Regions from separate parts of the Homo sapiens genome. Here region 2 is linked to region 1. The links are contacts of gene promoters, found by promoter capture Hi-C in blood cells and fetal thymus (Javierre and others, 2016). All regions are on one chromosome and are shown on one strand. Each heading gives the region's core, a stretch centred on a gene start or on the middle of the fragment in contact. The rest is flanking DNA. Distances are from core to core; before and after follow the strand shown. Region 1 holds the start of MDP1 (magnesium dependent phosphatase 1). Region 2 overlaps SLC7A8 (solute carrier family 7 member 8).

What was found. Contacts are between HindIII fragments. The CHiCAGO score rates a contact against its expected background, and 5 or more counts as called.
Region 2: a contact is called between a fragment that was not itself captured here and the fragment with the promoter of MDP1 in region 1, in 1 of 17 cell types (M0 macrophages). The highest score is 5.5, in M0 macrophages.

The regions. Positions count from the first base shown.
Region 1 is chr14:24,214,735-24,217,348 of GRCh38, forward strand. It overlaps MDP1 (magnesium dependent phosphatase 1), which reads right to left and starts at 1,332. Exons shown (of 6, transcript NM_138476.4): 1 at 1,185-1,332; 2 at 1,003-1,063; 3 at 818-928. The coding sequence starts at 1,221. It overlaps NEDD8-MDP1 (NEDD8-MDP1 readthrough), which reads right to left. Exons shown (of 7, transcript NM_001199823.3): 4 at 818-928. It overlaps NEDD8 (NEDD8 ubiquitin like modifier), which reads right to left. Exons shown (of 4, transcript NM_006156.3): 4 at 2,123-2,489. The coding sequence ends at 2,393. RefSeq lists enhancers at 58-796, 1,209-1,378. The HindIII fragment of the contact is 6,893 bases long and covers 1-2,614 here.
Region 2 is chr14:23,161,923-23,164,536 of GRCh38, forward strand. All of the region lies in intron 3 of SLC7A8 (solute carrier family 7 member 8), which reads right to left. Among named protein-coding and RNA genes, the nearest start is that of SLC7A8, 20 kb to the right of the region's middle. The HindIII fragment of the contact is 1,337 bases long and covers 583-1,919 here.

The DNA.
Region 1 (2,614 bases), core at 82-2,581:
TGTTTAACTCCATTGCCTTCCTATTTGACACAATTGGTGCTGGGCCAATGTTTTAGCTTTTGTTTTGAGACAGGGTCTAGCTCTGTTGCCCAGACTGGAGTGCAGCGACCCAATCACGGCTCACTGTGGTCACGACCTCCTGGGCTCAAGTGATCCTCCCACCTCAGCCTCCCAAGTAGCTGGGACTACAGGTGCACGCCACTACAATTTTTTTTTTTTTTTTGGTAGAGATAGGGTCTCCCTCTATTGCCTAGGCTGGTCTCAAATTCCTGGGCTCAAGTGATCCTCCCACCTAGGCCTCCCAAAATGCTAAGATTACAGGTGTGAGTCACTGTGTCTGGCCCCACTTTTTTTTTTTTTTTTTTTTTTGAGACATTGTCTCACTCTGTCACCCAGGCTGAAGTGCAGTGGCTCCATCTCAGCTCACTGCAACCTCCGCCTCCCGGGTTCAAGCGATTCTCCTGCCTCAGCCTCCCGAGTAGCTAGGATTACAGGTGCGTGCCACCACGCCCTGCTAATTTTTGTATTTTTAGTAGAGACGGGGTTTCACCATGTTGATCAGGCTGGTCTTGAACTCCCGATCTCGTGATCCACCCGCCTCGGCCTCCCAAAGTGCTGGGATTACAGACGTGAGCCACCGCGCCCGCCTGCTGGCCCCACTTTTTAATAGTTAAAAGGCACAGGAGAGCGTTCAAGGGAAAAAATATGTAAATACTTGGAAACTTGCACCGCCCCTATTTTTGTAGACCAGGGGTTTCACTGTCTCTTGCATGCACCCTTCAGCATTACACTGTCAGTTGTCAGTCGCTCTTCTTACCTTGAAGCAGCCGCACCGGGCACCCCAAGGCTCTGCAATCGTTTTAGGACCTCAGGCACCTCTGGGTACAGTCGGACGTCTTGGCCCCGCCTATCTCGTACAGTTCCATCACTGGAGAGGGCAAGAGTGCGCTCAGCCCTGGCTGGGTCCTATCTCGCCCCCAGTCTTCCCTGTCCCTACCTCACCTGCTCTTATGGAACGGAGGGTCTACGTGCGTGTCGACCCAGAAAGGCCAGAGAGTGTAATCTGCGAGAGGAAGGAGAGGGAAGGTTCAGCCTGGGGCGGGAGATGCAGGGATTCGGGAGCTGCTGTTAGGGATGTGGAAAAGGAGAGCACCTTACGAAATTCTCCCCTTCCCGTCCCTCACCCAAATCAAAGACTGCCAGCTTCGGTAGCCGCGCCATGACCCGCACCGCAGGCTGCGCGCAGCAGAGGTGGGGCTTCACCCGGGGCCTTAGAGAGTGCGGAACCTCCGGCAGCTAAGGCAGCCACCCTGCCTGCCATAGACAAATGGCGACTAGAGCGTCGCCACTCGGGGCGTCATCAGCCTGGAGATGGCGCAAGAGTGCCATCTGATGCTGGGCGGGGAAGAGGATTGCAGCGAGGTACCAACACGACCACACATGCAACCACAGCAGTCAAGTCTTTCTAAGGCATTGGCCACGGGCATCCTCCCTACTTCTCCACTCCACCCAGCCTTGCCCGATTCTATTATACTAAGAAGCCAGGGAAGAAGGAAAGCCTTTTCTTCTAGCACCTGCCTCTTCTTGAGACCCAAGTGATACATCACAGCTTGTCACTCAATCTTTCTGCATTATCAACCTCCTGACAGTGTAGAACCCAAAGTCCTCAGTAATATTCCAGCCATAGAGTACAGTGTCAGCCAAACCCTTGAAGGCGTTCTCCAACCAGGCCTAAATGTCCAGTACAGCCACAGTCAAGAGAGAATTCACTCTCCGAAGGTTTCACCATCCATGTCAGCACTACACTGGTAGATGTATAACAACCAGTTTGTGGGGAGGAACTGATCTGTAGTGTTTGCTAGTTTCTGTAAATAATCCTACCATGGCCAATTTCAAGCTACCAACATGAAGTCACTTAATAGAGTTGGAAAAAGGTGCCAATAATTGGCTCTCATTAGCCACTAGGAACTGGTTCCAACACACCACTAAGTAGGTTTTCCTAGAGTCTGATAATCCCCGTAAGAGCACCATTCCTTCCACTGTCCGATTCCTTCAGCCTGCTATAACTGAGTGAGCATTAGGTCCATTTTTATTTCAGTCAACTTGTGCAACAGAAGAAAGATTCCAGGAGGCCAGGAAATATTTTATTGACAACCAGGGACACAGTCATAAGAGAGGGAAGCACACAGGACTGCAAACTAACACCCAGTAGCCAGCAAGGGCCCTCTGGGCCAGGAATACTGAATCCTGGGATCCTCACAGTCTCCCACCAGTAGACATACATTACTGGGCATCCAGGGGAGGGGGCAGTGGCTATGGTGTCCCAGAGAGTGAGAGGATATATGATGCCTCATTATGAGCGACAGGGTAAAGAGGTAAAATGGAGGGTCCATCACTGCCTAAGACCACCTCCTCCTCTCAGAGCCAACACCAGGTGAAGGACTGAACCACCTAAAATCTTGTAATCAGCTGCTGTCTTCTCATCATTCCTGCAGGAAAAGGAAGCCAGAAAAAAAAGAAAAAGAAGACTTAGGAGTTTTTTGTTGTTGTTGTTGTTGTTGTTGTTGTTGTTTTTGACAGAGTCTCGCTCTGTCATCTAGGCTGGAGTACAGTG
Region 2 (2,614 bases), core at 1-2,500, 1.1 Mb before region 1:
TCTAAAAAAAAAAAAAAAAAAAGCATCTACCAAGCCTTCCTGACAGCTTGGTTCTTGTTTTACTGAATACCGTATGAGAGGATTGGATGCTTATCTGGTATGGCCTGCCATAAAATTCAAAAAAAGAAGAGAGGATTTGAGGGGCCTATAGAAGTGGATTAAAAAAAAAAAGTATTCAACAAACCGGAAAACAGAACCTCTGTACACAGACTCAAAGCAGCTGGGAGTGTCAGGTATAAGGAAAGGGAGAGAGGAAGTTTGTTATAGCTAATGCATGTACGTGTGCACCCTGCCGGGCAGAGGGATGGCAGCTCCACATGGCCTTCACAGCTAGGAGGAAAGGGACACTGCAGCGGGACAGGTGTGGAGCTGGTTTCCATTTCCCCTAAAGGAAATAAGGAAGACTACGCTTGGGAATAAGAAGGATTTAAGATTTTTCTGCTTATGAAGGTAGACAAATATTTGAACCCATATTTCAAGGACATTGAAAATTCCTGTCTTTAGAGGACAAGATTGGCTACTGTTAAGTTGGAGATAATTTCCTTGCAGTTCTGCTGAGAAGGCAGAGGCCAAACTTAGATAAGCTTTATTGAATCTTTGACTACAGGAATAGAGGAGGGGGGTCTTGTCATTTTTGTCATCAGCCAGTTTCTAAATTTCTCCTTGGCTTGGTCCTTGCAGTGTCTAGGTGAGGGGAAGGCTGTGGAGAGGACTGTGCAACATGTCATTCTGGAGCAGGGCTACAGGCAGGTGGCGTTCTTATCTCCTAGGAGAGTTTGGACCTTTCTGGTCCGAGGGGACGCCAAAAAGGCTACACTACTTTGGAGGGTCTTTGTGCAAGAGGTCAAACCCTTGGCAGATTTGGGGAATGCAAAGAAAGCCATGGGGTCTGGCTGCCTGGGAACTTCTTCAACCTGTGGCCTGGCTCCTCTCCTAGGGTGCAAACTGAACAGCCTCGGGGGTTCTTGATTTCTAGTAGAAGGGTAAGGGTGGCCTCTTGTCTGAGACACTTTAGCAGCATCAGCAGGAAAAAGGAAGCTGTCTGTGTGCAAAGAAACACCAAAACAGCAGTAGCTAGCACTTCTGTGGCCTTGCCTCCCACCCTCCCATTAGCTGATCTGATGGCAGAAACAGCACTCTTCCTGCATTCCCACGCCCTCGCTCTTCCCCGCTCCCCATCTCAACTCTGGATCCAGCTAGGATGCAAGGATAAAGTGGCCCCAGCATCTTGCCCACCCCCAGTGACTGATATGACTGGGGTGCTGGGTGTCTAACACTGTGCTGAGGGTGTCCCCTTCCTTCTCTCTTGCAGTCCTTGTGACCACGACCTCTTGAGGCAGCTAGGATTACACTCCCCATCTCACAGTAGGGTGGACGAGTGATTTTGCCCAGCACTCACCACTGCAGTTAGAAATGGTGGACTGGAGATGCAGGCGCAGGCAGCCTGGTTTTGGAGCCTGCATTCCTCTGCCTCCAGATCTGTGAGCAGGCCTGATCAAACACAAGGAATACACCCCCAAACAAATGTCTTGGCCCCATATTGCAAATGGCCTGGGTGGTGGAGGTCTGTCCCAGGGTTGACCAGCACTGCCAAAGAGGGCTCACTTGCCAAGGAGACCGCCTCTTGGGTCCCAGCTGCCTGCCCTGTAAGAGGCTACTGAGGTGGGTGAGTGATCTCTTCCTCCCCCATCCCGTAACAGGACAGAAGGAAAAGTGTCAGGACCTGGGAAAGCATATGGCCAGGATGATCACTGCCCTCAGCTAAGTGTATGTGTGTTAGAAGCTATGGGAAGGCAGGGACCCAGTGAACCCTAGAGGTGGAGCCCCTGAAACATATCTAAGTATTTACTTTAGAAATTAGTTTTTGATTAAAGATGTAAAATACCCCAATCCATTGAGATGACTAATATCAGAGATAAAGCTTTGAGACTTCCTAGAAATACGGCTCTGCAGAACTTCTCTAGGAAGCCTCTCTAACCTATTCCAGCCCACAGAGATCTTTTCCCCTTCTCTGAATTTTATTGTTATTGTTGTTTTTAATTTCTTTTTTTTTTTTAGAGACAGGATCTCACTATGTTGCCCAGGCTGGAGTGCAGTGGCTATTCATAGGTGTAATCATAGCTCACTGTGGCCCAGAACTCCCAGGGTCAATCGACCCTCCTACCTCAGCCTCCCAGGTAGCTGGAACTACAGGTGTACACCACCATGCCTAGCTCCCTTCTCTGAATTTTTACTGCAATTGAATCCTAACCACAGTATCTGTCTATATGGCTTTTCTCCTAGTTAGAAAACTCATCAAGGGCAGGGATCATGGACAAACCCTTCTCCAAGAGAGTTAAAAGAGTGTGACTTGACAAGTTGAGGTAGAAGTAGATGTGGACCTACTGCCAAGAAGCCAGAGTAATCTTCCTAGGAGCAGCTGGGAGTAGCCAGCACAGTGCAGTGCACTGGACAGACAAGAAATCAGGAGCCCTTGCACTCCACGTGGCCTGCCTCCCTGGGCAAGTCATTTGCCTGGCTCTCTGTTTCCTTATCTGTTCTGGGAAAATGTTAACACTGGCCCAGCTTACCTCATGGACTTGTCATTAGGCCCAAATCAGATAATATAGGTGAA